Regions from separate parts of the Homo sapiens genome. Here region 2 is linked to region 1. Evidence: promoter capture Hi-C in human tissues and cell types (Jung and others, 2019). All regions are on one chromosome and are shown on one strand. The core of a region is centred on a gene start or on the middle of the fragment in contact, and the rest is flanking DNA. Distances in the headings are between cores, read along the strand shown. Region 1 holds the start of FILIP1L (filamin A interacting protein 1 like). Region 2 overlaps CMSS1 (cms1 ribosomal small subunit homolog).

Region 1 (7,304 bases), core at 1,579-4,078:
CTTCTAAGAGGCTATAATACAAATTTTCTTCTGTCTTAGACTTCCTGTCTGACCCAATTCTGAAGAACCAGATGGTATTAGTATGTAAAGTTTTTGTCTAACATCTATAGCTTGCACCAAAATGTCAACATCCCTCAAAGAAGGCTCAAGTATTTGCACTAAAATGTGTTTTCTAATTCAATTATTTGATGCTGAGATGGTATCTAAAATTGTCTCCATATCTATGTTGAACAACATGCACAATACACAGATTCAAATCACTAGTAATCAGACTCTCTGTGCAGATTCCTACACTCAGGGCATCTGGAGACCATGTTTGCCTCATTCACTGTTATAATCCCAATAACCAGCACGGGGCCTGGCACAGAGTAGGCATTCTAAAATAGTTGATGAATGAATGAACAAATGAGCAAACAAACTAAGCTATTACTATAAAAGTGTTCCCCTAATATAACTAAACAAACTTACTGTGTATTGCTGGTAGGCACTAGTTCTACTCTAAGGAAAATAAAAGCTACTAGCACTTTTTCTTTAAATGTTTTTTAATGTAACATATTAGAAAGGTGAAGCGGGTATTACATTGGTAATGAAAATTTTGCTTTAGGTTAGAACATAGAATAATATGGACTGTAATCAGAAGAAAAGAAGATAGAGCCCATTACATTTAGGTTTTTTGCATCCTTGGACCTGCCTGACTCTCGGCAAGTTGCAATGGCAGTCTCCTACAATAGCACTCTATTAAAGGCACCATCATTTCAATGGCACAATAAAATATCTTCATTTCCAGTGCCAGCGCCACTACCTAAGACCAAGTCTTGACTAAATTTATTACTTAAATTTATTGCTAATTTATTGCTTAAATAAAGCTTAAGCAAAAAAGACAATTACACATGAACTTTAATAGAAGGTAAACTCTAAAAATAAATTGTCACTCTTTAAATAATGAATGCTTTTCTTTGCTGCAGAACTTTTACAGAGTATCTTTGTATTGGTTAGTATAAGAATCCAAACCCCACATTGCTTTGGGAAATTACTGAGAAAATTCTCATCAGAGTAGTAGACCTTAATTACCCAGGTGGAAAGAGCCCATGAATATTATTGCTGCCTTTAGAAGTTTTTATTAACAAACAGCTCTTACAGTATTTATGCTGATTTTTAATTAAGCATAATGAGAGTTTCATAATAGTGTCAACTGATAAATGTAGAGAAATGTTTACTTGGAATATTTGGCTTTGGGAGATAGCAGATTGATAAATCAGAAAATGTCATCACAGGAAAAACAAGTTTAACTGTAGCTAAAGGAACATTGCTGTAATTGCAATGCATTCTCTCTAGTATTAACTACACCATGTTCTCCTTTATGCATATCTAATACACACGTGGAATATGGTAGTGTAGTTAAACAGTGTATGTGTTGCACCTCTTCTATTCCTTCCTGAGATGTGAACAGATAATGAATAAAGAAAGATATGTAATCATTAATTGGTATGGAAAGAAAAAAGAATAACTGAATATGTCACAACCATTTTAACTGAACACATATCTCTCTTCAGTGGAGCGCCTATATACAAAACTGTGCAGCCACCCTAAACATTGAATAATCCTCCCATTGAGGAGTACAGTGAGCAGAATTTTCTGTGATATCATTTGGCAGCAGCCTAGCATCATTTCCCATTTATATCCAGATGTGATGTGCCCATGGATATCCAGTCATCTTCTGTGGGGTGTTACAGAACAAGTTCTTGATAGGTATCTCCCAAGACCTGCCAAAAACCTTATCTCAGAAACCTGCTTCTGTTCTCTGGCTCTCATTCATTAAATCTTAACATCAACAGAAGGTAAACAAACAAAAGAAAAAAGATACAATATAGTTGCCATTTGAAAATGTTAGTTTCTTCCATTAATCTTTCCATGAAAAGAGAATTCCTCCTCTGCAATTTAACCTATTCAGTATAATTCTCCATTTTCAACACATTGTGATGATTTTGACACTGTATATTGATCATTCACATCAGCTTACAAAATCAAGCTATTAAGAAGGAAAGCCATTTATCCAAACATACTTTTTCTTTAATTTTTGACTATCCATCTTACTCTTAACAGGATAACAATTTAAAGTTTCATTTTGGTTTTCTTTCATGTGTATCACTATAGTAAAACTTACCTACTGTCAGGATAGTTCCTCTATTTTGCAAGCAACTCTTAGTCATTTTAGCCTAAAAGTCATCATCTGTCATAAGCTCTTAATCATACTACGTTCCCTTGCATAATATTCACAAGATCCTACTTTTGGAGAGTGGTGTTGGCCGCTCCTAGCTGGTGAATAACACAGAAACATCCCAAAGCCTCTTCTCAGCAAGGATGGGGACACTTAGCTTACCGTGCAGGTACCGTGCAGGTGTTGATCACACCTGGTAATTCCTTCTTCTCATCCCCACCAAAATCCAACAGTGGAATCCAGGACCAACAACAACGTTTTCTTCTTCTCTTTTTGGACACCCTCTCAGTTTTTGTTTTGTAGGCTTGAAAGCCACCGAGAGTTTGCAACCAGGGGCCAGTGATAGCTCTGCAAAGGAGAGGCAGTGGGGAGCCCAACAACAAGTAGGCCCAAACACTAAATATTGCCCTCTTCCCTCTCCGGGCAGTGTCCTTCATGCTCTGAAGACAGGCAGCCTTACCAAAACTCTTACCCCACAGCTTGCCAGTCTCTGTGGAAGAAAGGTTCTAACTGGACTGGGCTGCAGGATGAGGTGACCCAAAAGCCAGGAACCATCTGCGCAGAGCAGACAAGTAGAGGCAGGCACAGGCTCCGTGAGCACGTCTGTGTGTGTGTGTGTGTGTCTGTGTATGTGTGTTTGCATGCCTGTGCCCAGCAGCTGCTCTCCAGATTAGAAGACACCACTCTTTGGCCAGCAACTCTGAAACACCCTCTTAGGTAATTTTAAATTCATGTGCACATCTTGGCTGAGAGTAGAAACTTCCCAAGCACAACCTGGGTCCCATTCTTTGCTGTGTTGCTACCCCAGATATATTGTGAACCACAGACAGCAGTGCTAGCACCTTAGGAACAGATGCCCAGATGGACATTAAATTGCACCTCATTTTGTACCCTGCAGCCATGAGCTGATGTAAGCCTTGTTTGTGATTTAAGTAACAAGGGCATGACCCCTTCTTTGACACCCATAACCCAAGGCACTGTAAACATTCGCTATTATTAACGCTGTGTTGGACTCAAACTTGAATGCCTGCCTGTTCCATTTAGTGTCACAGGAGACACGAGGGCAAAGTGCTGAGGAAACTCTAGAGCAACATCGGAATGCATGGTGGTATGTTTATTATTATTATTTGACATTTTGTTTTATATTATTCAAGTGTTAAGAAAACCTTCATACTTAGGATTGCTAAAATTTGAAGCATCTAATTTTCTTTAAGTAGGATCACTTGTTCAGATTGAGGGGTTGGATAGAAGGGAGGAGTTTGTTCATTTATTCAACAAATATATATTTCAGCATCCATTATGTATCAGATCACTTACCAGACATGCCTACCACCTGCCCAGTGCTCAAGTCATGCATTATCTAATTTAATCCTCACAGCAGCCCTTTAAATTAGTCCTACTCCTGGTGATCTAATGAGAAAACCAAAGATCAGAATAATTTAATAACTTCCTAGGATCTCACAGATGATAGATATAAGACTGAGGATTCAAAATTGAATCTGAGTTACTCCAAAGCCCATGCTCTTTATTTTTAATTTTTAACATCAAAATAATTTCAGACTTATAGAAAAAATACAGGAATAATAAAGAATTTCCATATGCTCTTCACTAAGGTTCTCCAATGTTTAACATTTTACCACTGGTTGTATTCTCCCTCTCTTTCTCTTTCTCTCTCTCTCTCTCTGTCTCTCTCTCTCTCTCTCTCTCTCTCTCTCTCTCTCTCTCTCTCTCTCTCTCTGTCTCTCTCTCTCATCCTCCTTTCCACCCGTGAGTTTATTTTGGTGTGTGTATATTTTTTTCTGAATTAATTTATATACTTTAGTGTGATTATCTTAAAAATGTAAGTATACTCTTCTACATAACCACAGTATAACAATTAAATTCAGTAAATCAACTTTACTTTCTAATCCATAGATCCCATTCAACTTTTCACCAAATGTCTCAATAATATCCTTTATAGAAAAAAAATGGTTTTTTAGTCCACGATTATGTGTTGCATTTAGTTGCCTTGTCTCTACGTTCCTTCAATCTTGAACAGTTCTGTAATCTTCCTTTTTTATATGTGACCTTCACATTTTTGAAGAGTACGTTTTGTAGAATGTTCCTTAGTTTAGATTTGTGTGATGTTTCCTCATTGTGAGATTGAAATTGTGTATTTTTATGGCAGGAATACTACAGAAACAATGCTGTATTCTTCTTAATCATATCAGGAGTCACATAAACGGAGTTAGTCTTGTAACCAAACCCACTTGCTTAAGGTGGTATCTGTTAGATTTACTGTAAAATTATGGTTTTTCCTTTTGCAGTTAATAAATATTTTGTGGGGAGATACTTGGAGACTAGGTAAACATATTGCTCTTAAATAAACTTTCTTAGAGTGAAGAAGAGCATTCCCTTCTCCTCACTTATTTTTGTGTTTATTTATATCAACATGAGCTCATAAATTGCTGTTTTATTGAATGAGTTATAAATCACTAATATCATTATTTATTTTAATGCTCAAATGATCTCAGATGTGGTCCTCATGTTTTTCTGAGTACTTTCTTACCTTCTGGCACAAGAAAATGTTCCATAAGCATCTTGTACTTTCTGTGCCCAACTCTGGAATTAGCCATATCTTCAAGAAGACCTCCATCCATTATGGAAAATGGTATTTAGAAACCAAGATCTGGGGATTGCGTGAGCTCATTGCTTCCAGGCCCTTTCAGGTAATAGGCTAGGAAACACAAACACACACGCGCGCCTATATCTGTTGCTCTGTCTATTTATATTAAAGACTATGAGATCACACTGATAGCTGCATTTCCAATCTAACACCATAGACATAATCTGGCTTTTAACCCTTTCCATATTTGTAACTCCTTTCCCCAACAGTGAGGATAAGGTGGTTTCTGTTATCCTCAGAATACTTATGTATTTGCTCATTGCCCCTGTGGGTAAGGGCCCCTTTGGCCCTTAGTCTTTTTGGCCCCATCATCCCTGATTTCTCAAGGAAAAGGAAAGGAAGTAGTCAAAATTTTTTAAATAAAAAAGAAGGAAATGATGAGAATAAGAGTTTCATGTTCTTTCTATACCATAAAGTATCTGTATCTTCATGGCAAGGTAGGTATTAGAAATCATCATGCAATCTCTGTGAAGGTGTGAAGATGTCATGGAAACAAAAGTTTATAAAGACTGAGGGAAGAGTTCAATTATTTATTCACATAAATAAATAATTGCCATGTGTCAGGCACACTGTGAAAGATAGACGTAGCCCTTGCCCTTGTGAACCTATAATCTAGTGGATTATTTTTATTATAGTTGCTATTTATTATGTCACACTTTGGCAACACTACATTAAGTACATTGAGCACTTTATTTATGTTATTTGATTTTAATTCAGACAGAAACCCTATGGGAGAAATAGTCTTTTTTTCCAACTTTACAAAAAACGGAACTGAGGTTTTGAAAGATTAAGTAATCTTTCCAACATCACTGAGATAATTAGTAAGAGACCGGGATCTGCATTTAGTTTAGTCTGACTTCCGAGGCCTAACTCTAAACACTAGGGCTATATGAGAAAAAAATAAGGTGGAATTATTCATCATGGTGGCATCCAGAAGGAATCATGATTTTTAAAATCTTGAATGCAAACTCTCCTATAGAACTGTGCTATCCAGTACATTAACTACTAACCACGTATGGTTATTAAGAGCATAAAGTGTGGCTAATTCAAATGGAGATATGCTGTAATTATGAAATACACAGCAGATCTCAAAGACATTAGAAAACAACTAATGTAAAATATCTCAGTAATAATGTGTATATTGATTACAGGTTGAAAGATAATACTTTGGATAAATTGGGTAAAACAGATACACTTTTTTTTTTTACCATCACAATAGCCAAAAGGTGGAAACAACCCAAATGTCCATCAATGGATAGATAAACTGCAGTATATATATATATATATATATATATATACATATATATATATATATATATATATACACATACAATGGAGTATTACTCAGGCTTAAAGACGATTGAAATTCTGATACATACTACAATATGGATGAACCATGAAGGCATGCTAAGTGAAATAAATTAGGCACAAAAGGACAGATACTGTTATGATTCCACTTATATAAGGTACCCAGAATTGTCAAATTCATAGAAATAGAAAGTAGAATAGGGTTATCAACAGCTGGTGGGAAGGAATGATGGGGAGAATTGTTTAATGGGTGTAGAATTTCATCTGGGGATGATGGGAAAATTCTGGAAATAGAGAGTAGTGATGGTTGCATACCAGTGTAGTTGTACTTTATTTCACTGAGTTGCACACATGAAAAGGGTTAAAATGGTAATATGTTCTGTGTATTTACTATTATTTTTAAAAATTGGTTTTACTATTTCTAGAAAATTTAACATAACATACACGGCTTATATTATATCTCTATTAGATAGCATTGCTATAGTATTGTATTATTAATACAGAAAATTAGTTATTTAAGAGATTTTGAGATATTAAATGATCCTACATTAGACTTTTCACCTCCTGATCAGTCAGCTTTGAAAGAGTTACAGGACAGCTTTTCACTTACAGTTGTATTAGTGACATAGACTTTTGAAATTAACTTTATGAAACTAGCCATTTGTTGTTTTAATAGTTCATTTTCCAGTTGCAGAGTATCCATGCGGCCTCTGTTCAAGCACTAACATAATTGTCTCAGCCTATGTAGATCCTACAATATAATTATCTTAAAATTCCATCTCCGTTTAAGCTTCCTTGGGTCCATGGAATTGATATTAGTTCATCAGTTAACTTTCAAAAGTTGACCCCTAGGACAGAAACTCTTCCCCTTTCCTGTGGCCTTTCTGTCACAGCATCTACCAAAAATAGGTATCTGTATGGGGAGGAAAGGAGGGAATGTATTGGGCTGACTCTTAGATATCATCCTACAGATAACTGAAAGAATTGTGAGTCCATAAACAGAACACATTCTCTAAAGATGTCTTAGTCCCACCCACTGACAGGTGACCAAGCAACCAAATAAAGAAGGGAAATATCAAGAAAAACATTCCTAATCTTTTGGTGGTCGTGTTG
Region 2 (7,304 bases), core at 1,877-4,376, 48 kb after region 1:
TTAGTGGCCTTGGCACAGTCTCTAATTGGCATGTACCAGCATCAAATTGGCATGTATCTACATCCACAAGACAGTTTAACTTTCTAAATAAAAGAAGCCATATCTCTCTTTTCTTTAGCTATGATGCAATTGCTCTTTGCAGGTTTTTTGTTTTATCTTAGAGGAAACTAAAATTTCAAGATTTCCCATGTCACTTTAATCCTGAACTTTTTAAATCTATTTCTGTAATAACTAAAAGAGAATCTTGAAACTGCGGGTCTTTGGCCCCATGTCTTGAAGAAATTATGTAGTATTATATCTTTCTCTCTGACTTCAGGCCATAGACATTCTCAATCTGCAGGCTGTCTGCAAGCTTTCATAGAAAGATTCATCTGTAATCATTTTAGCAGAGCCAGTGGAGACAAGATTGCTTTAGTTAGTAGCTTATCAGTTTAAACTGAGTATTCTCTGGTTGGAATGGAAAGTTAATCAAGGAAAACTCAGAATAAGTTTTCACTTACATTTTATATCTTACTTGGCAACTTGTTTGACAATGTTGCATAAAAGGTCCAGCACAGGAAACATTTTATACTCCTGCTTATGATTAATAAATATGGAATCTGGGGCATTCTATTTTATAAATCAAGGTCTTAGTCCAAATTTCCTGTTTTTCTACATTAGAAAAAAGCCCTCAGGGTAAAAATAGTACTAAACTGGGGTACTCAGGGGTCAAGGCAACAGGCAAAACAGATTACTCTAGATACTGTGGTGCTGAGACGGTTATCAGACTAGTAGCAAAGACATTCATTTTGTAGTCATTATAGCAAAGGCATTTGATGCAGCTGGTTTATAAAAACGTAAGTTAATATATCTTACTTTGGATTTTCTATGCTTATTGAAAAGAGGAAAGGAATGTATAATACAAAACAATAAACCAGTGACTTGGAAATGTAGGCTCACACACAGCTAGTTCATGGAAAACCTTAGTCACTCTAGTCAAAGACTGTCTTACCACATCTTAATTTTAATCACATCGATTTCTGCTGTATTATACAAACTCAGCCACTGTCTTCAATCTCCAATACACTGCACTTCCACACCAAGCACACATATACACTCACTCACAATTTGATCTTGCTCAAAGATTCTCCAGTCTTAAGTCATCTGCGCTTTCTGACTTTCTCAAATTCTCTCAGCCCAACCGCTGCATAGTAACCTACGGTAGATCTTCCAGCATCTCTCTTTCTGTAGAATATTACCAAGATACTCTGAAGAATACATGCATGGCAGAAAGTACTTTGGGGTTCATGCCACTAATTGACACTTTATCATGAAAAGATTAAAATGTTCTCATTTGTATTTCTTAATAGCCTAAAGAATGTTTTTTGATACAACCAAAGGAAAGAAAAGAGAATACCACCAAGACCAGGAAAAGAAGAAAGGTAATATTAATAATTTCTTAAATTTGTATGGCCCCACATGGTTTCCATCACATTTTTATATATCATACTTTCTTGAGGCAACTATTGTAATCCCCACCTAAGAGATGCAGACATTGTAAGATTCTTTGAGGTTTGGTGACTTTCCTAAGGTCACTACTAATAAGTGTTTCTGTTGGAGCTAAGAATAAATTCTTCTGACTCCTATTTCAGTCCTGTGGAGTGCCAAATATCTTTGTTACCCACCCTATGTTTTCAGTGTGGTCAGATGTCAGACATAGATTTCTAATTCTAGAAGGAGTCCAGAGCTATCCTCCCCCGGCCCTTCTGGCTCTGTCCATGAAAAGAAATATACCAACCTCCTTTTTCTATTCATTCCGGATTTTAAGACCTTATACCTTAAAGTATGAATAAAAAGAAAATAATAAGCAGATGAAGGTAGTATGAGGCACTTCTGACTAATTTGGAACCATAAATTAGGTCAAAAAAGCTCCCCTACCTTGCATTTTGATATTTGCTGGTGAGCACAGGAAAGACTCTTTCTCATATACAAACTTTTTTATGGCTCAGCCTTGGAGAAAGTATGGTTAGCTATGACCTTCTCCCACAGTTGTGAAAACAGCAGTGTAATTCTCTCCCTGCCAAGAGGGGTCTGCTGCTGAAGTCAGCCGAGGAAATACGATTGGGATTAGAGGAAAGAAGATGGACTCAAACCTATTACTTAACAGCAAGCTTTTAGAAAACTGAGAGTGTGTGTGCATATGTTTTCTTTTCTTACAAATGGCCAAATAGGAAAATGGGAGATGCCAAATTGGCTGAGGTTTGGCAAGTCCTTAAATAAGTGACTTTAACTTCGCTTTGATAATTTGTACACTAATGGCCTTCTGGAGTGTTAAGTTCTTGGTGGCTCAAGGTCAAAACTCTAGCTAGATAGTTTAGTCTTGACTGAGGTCACACTAAAATGTGCCCACTGATGACATATTTTTAAAAGTTAATTTCTTTGACAGAGGCTTGACCATTCTTGGCAAGTGTCTAGAAATGAGGATATTGTAGAAGGAGGGGGAAAATCTGGGGTCAGGGGTGGGGAATGCTCCTTCTGGATCTTTGGTGGAACATTAGAAGGAAGTGAGAAGGGAAGCTTATGATGGAAATAAATGAATGATTGTGGGTTTCTACTACTGCAGCATTCAATACATGCTACACAAATGAGTCCAAATCAAAATCGATGTTGGAAAGTATTTCCTGTAATATTTTTTCTACTTTGCATAGGGCCACTTTAATACCATCAGTTATCCAAGACCTGAGAATCGAGGGTGTTAAGTCCCCTTCTCAGTAGGCCCCTATGCTCAGATTCCTACTGCGGGTTTTACACTAATGACAGAAATCCAAACTAAGACTCAGCACCTCAAAAACCAGATTGGGCAAGAAATTCTCAAAATTCTAATCCTACAGGAATATAAATCATCTAGGGCTAAAAGAGAGCTCTCCATAGCAATGAGATTTCTTTACTTTTAACAGAAAATAATACCCCAGTATGGAGATGCCTGCAAAAATTTAGTTATCTTGGAAGTCATAGACCAAGAGTTACAGGGAGCTTTCTAGATCATTTTTTCATTTTTCAAAGCAATAGTTATGTCCAAGAAGTATTTAGTGAATTTTCTCAAATGTATTTATTAAAACCCACATTCACACTTGGCTAACACCAAAAGCTATGTGCCGTTTAAATGCCAGAGGAACTAACCTATTCCAACCAAATGCCATTTTAAAATATGTCGTCCCATTTTTCTTCTTTCTCATATCTTAGAAGAAAATTACTGATGTTCTTGCAAAATCAGAACCAAAACCAGGGTTACCTGAAGACCTACAGAAGCTGATGAAGGACTATTATAGCAGCAGACGCTTGGTGATTGAATTAGAAGAACTGAACCTGCCAGGTATAGCCAAGCTTCAATTTTCCTAAAGACAAGGAGCAAAACATAAGTATCTGTTATGGTTAGGTGTCTCAGGCAGTCAATTAACACATTTTCCAGCGGGCATGGTGGCTCATGCCTATAATCCCAGCACTTTGGGAGACTGAGGCTAGAGGATCGCTTGAGCCCAGGTGTTTGAAACCAGCCTGGGCGATACAGTGAGACCTCATCGCTATTAAAAATAAGAATAATAATAATAATTGTTTAAAGAGACATACTTTCAGGCCAGGCACAGTGGCTCACGCCTATAATCCCAGCACTCTGGGAGGCTGAGACGGGTGGATCACTTGAGGTCAAGAGTTCAAGACCAGACTGGCCAACATAGTGAAACCCCATCTCTACTAAAAAATACAAAAATTAGCTGGGTGTGGTAGCACACGCCTGTAATCCCACCTACTTGGGAGGCTGAGGCAGAAGAATCACTTGAATCTGGGAGGCCGAGGTTACAGTGAGCCAAGATGACGCCATTGCACTCCAGCCTGGGGGACAGAGCGAGACTCCATCTCAAAGAAAAAAAAGAAACATAATACTTCTTTTCCTCAATCTAATAGTTTTAACTGATAGATTATATCAAATAGTTTTAACTGATAGATTATATCCTTACTGGATGCTAAACAGTATTTGTCAAATCTAATATTAAGATTTGTGATTGTATTTTTTTATTCAAAAGGTTAATTGTTGGGTGTGCATTTTTAACAAACTATTCAATGAGTAGGAATTCATCATGAGGATAGAAGTTGAAGTACACATTTAAAAGTATGGATGTGAAACACTGATTTACTCAACTATTATAGACAAGAACTTTAGCCTTAATAAGCAATTTAGTTTTGTTGTTGCTCTTATTATGGATTTCTAGTCATGGTTTTTAGAATAGTATTTTAGGTTGCAGGCCAGACTCTTTCAAGCAAACTGTCAAAAGGTAGGAACAAAATTCTGTATGTTTTGCGAGGCTGACACTTTGCCTCAAGGGATTCTTAGGCCTACTAGAATTTTAGATCCTCTGCCTTAGTGTATTTATAATTAAGCTAAAAGATATTACAAAATTTAAACAGCTAATTTTTTAAAAATATTTATTTATTTATTTTAGAGACAGTGTCTTGTTGTGTCGCCCAGGCTGGAGTGCAGTGGCACCATCGTAGTTCACTGCAGCCTCGAACTCCTGGGCTTAAGTGGATCCTCTCATCTCAGCCTCCCGAGTAGCTGGGAATATAGCCACGTGCCACCATACCCAGCTTAAACAACTAATTTTAATTAATTTCAAAATTATAATGCATCCTTTAACTCTTTTAGGCAGGGATGGGAGGAAATAGATGTTGTCATAAAATCAAACCATAAAAGTTTGGGTACAACTGCTTCAGATGAGCTATTTATAGACTACTAGGCATATCTAATATTGCTTTTGGAAAAAGTAGAGGGTGGCTTGATTTCCGTTTTCCATTACAACTTTATGCTTTCTAGAAGCTTGAGAAGCTGAAAAACAATCTGTTCCCTGAATTTTTATAATTCTTTTGTGATATCCTTTTTCAAAAACACACATTGGGTTTGGAGACATGAGTGCCCTGTCTGTTTTCCAAGGAGATTACCCTTTAGGGAATTGAAGGAGTGCATTTGCACATGAGCAGGATCTGGACTTTTAGACTTACTAAGCCCAGACAGTTCCAATAGCAGTTATAATCCACTCTTCTCAGCACACCACGGCCTCTGCTGTGAAAACTATGTCCTGACTGCACTATCACAGGAACTATTCTAACAAAACCACTTTTGAAGCTTTAACTGAAGTTTAATTTTTACTGTGACTCAATGGTCAGTTTTCCATTCTAGTTCTTTGTTAGAGCAACTTGAACTTAGGAAGGATTTGTGAGCAGTGGGACCACTGCTGTTCTGTAACCTCATGGAACATCGTAAACCTTGCTCCTCTCTGGAGTTAGAGAGAGTCAAAGCTCAGAAGAAACTTTTAAGGAGTCATTTGAGTTCCATAGTGAATTTGTTTGGTATTATTGTTTTATTAGAGTTCAGTAATATAGTTAGGCAAGAATGTGTGGTCATGGTTTGGGGAGGAAGGAAAATATGTTTGAAATAACGTTATAACCAAAAAGGACAGGTTTTTATTTTTAGTTAAAAAAATTAGGCCATTTAAGACACAATAAACTGAGACATCAGAGGAAGGTTTGAGAGAACAGGCCCTGGTCACTACACTGATGAGACCAAGGACAGAGAATAGATCTAAGCTAGATGTGGGGAAGGAGATACAGTGGGTTATTTGGAATAGGCTCAAGGAGGGACATAAATCCCCTTATATATACACATATAAGGTAGATATAAATAATAACATACTGTTCCTATTTAGTTTGTCGAGCCTCTGACTTGGTTTTGATTTGAGGTTGTTTGTGTCTGTAGGGCAGGAACATGTCTTTTCAATTAATATTGTGCACTGTACATTGTTAATGTCATACACATGGGCACTTAATTAGGATTTCAAGGTTGGAGTCACCCGGAGCTAATTAACTTCTCTGCTGTCTCCTGAGAGCTGCAGTGTGATTTAGATTAGTGATTCCTAATTGCCTATAGGCTAGTTGCAACCGAATCACCCAGGAACTTCTTAAAAATCAGATTCCCAGGCCCACCCCCAAGAGATTCTAATTCACTATGCAAAAGAGACTTCATCCCAGAAATCTGTATCTTCAGTTCTCCAGGTGAGTCTGATCATATCCAGGCTTGGGACATTATAAAGACCACCAAAGGCTCCACAACAATATAGGAGAAAACAGCTTTGAATTACTCACTTAATGAGTTATATGTGCTGGGTCACAACATAAATTTCATTTTGATCAGTCCAGCCCCTGTTTTATTTTAATGTGTTATATTGTTTTTTATTGTATTGTTATGTTGTGTTGTATTTTGAGACATTATTCTCATTCTTCCCTAATCCAAACTCTATTTTCATATGATAGGAATTTTTAAAAATATATATATATTCTTATAAAATATGTCATCCTGTGTATGTATATACATATTAAAATGTATCTAAAATGGCTTTGTGCTAATGCTTTCGTTCTGTTTCTTTCTTCACTTGACACTTTTTCCAGATATGACTAAGTAATTTTATGCATATCTAGTTCATTGCTTCTAAATGCCACATAATATTCCAGCGTTTCCATCTACCACATATACTCATCCATTTCCCCAGATATGGACACCTAGGTTGCTTCAAGCACCCTGCTATCACAAATAATGTCAGGATGAATATCCTTGTGTGTGTACCTTAATAGACCATGCAAGAATTTCTTTCTATTATTTACCTTGAATTGAAATGATAGAATTATAGGGTATATACATATTAATATTATTACTTTCCAGAATATCTATACCAGTTTATACTTCCACTTACAGTTCACAAGAGTTTCCATCAACTTGCATTCTCAACAACACTTGGTATTATACATATTGCTAATAGTTGCCATTCTAATGAGTGTGTAAAGTATGCTCATTATATTAACTTGCACTTCTCTGATAACTAGTGAGTTTCAACATGTTTACATAGATTTGTTAGCCACTTCATTTTGCATTTGTGTAGTCCCTATTTTATGGATTTGGAAAATAAAGTTGCTTCATAAATCTGCTGAGTGATGTAAGAAGCTCCTATTTCACTGCTCTAAGAAATTATGGGCAGCTCCGTGACAGGTTAAAAGTTTACTTGTTGCTGCTGCTGTTATTTTAAATATAGGCAACACTTTAAGATATAAAATGGGCCCCCAATTCACTAATATTTTACAACCTTATACATCACTCATAACTCACATATAATCTGTTTTGATTGTGTGTGTGTTTACAAAATTATCTACAAAGCATGTTTATTATATTTCTAGACTCCTGTTTCCTCAAGGCCAATGATTTGACTCACAGTCTTTCCTCATAC

The links. The method cuts DNA at HindIII sites, captures the fragments that hold promoters and counts their contacts. A contact is called where the count stands out against the background at its distance.
Region 2: a contact is called between a fragment that was not itself captured here and the fragment with the promoter of FILIP1L in region 1, in 1 of the 25 tissues and cell types used here (aorta).

Annotation. Positions count from the first base shown.
Region 1 is chr3:100,111,673-100,118,976 of GRCh38, forward strand. FILIP1L (filamin A interacting protein 1 like) reads right to left here and starts at 2,829. Exons shown (of 6, transcript NM_001387850.1): 1 at 2,381-2,829. All of the region lies in intron 1 of CMSS1 (cms1 ribosomal small subunit homolog), which reads left to right. The HindIII fragment of the contact is 15,087 bases long and covers 1-7,304 here.
Region 2 is chr3:100,159,081-100,166,384 of GRCh38, forward strand. It overlaps CMSS1 (cms1 ribosomal small subunit homolog), which reads left to right. Exons shown (of 10, transcript NM_032359.4): 3 at 1,350-1,421; 4 at 3,223-3,352; 5 at 7,255-7,304. LOC105374009 (a long non-coding RNA gene) reads right to left here and starts at 1,624. Exons shown (of 5, transcript XR_007095984.1): 1 at 1,105-1,624. The HindIII fragment of the contact is 3,751 bases long and covers 1,252-5,002 here.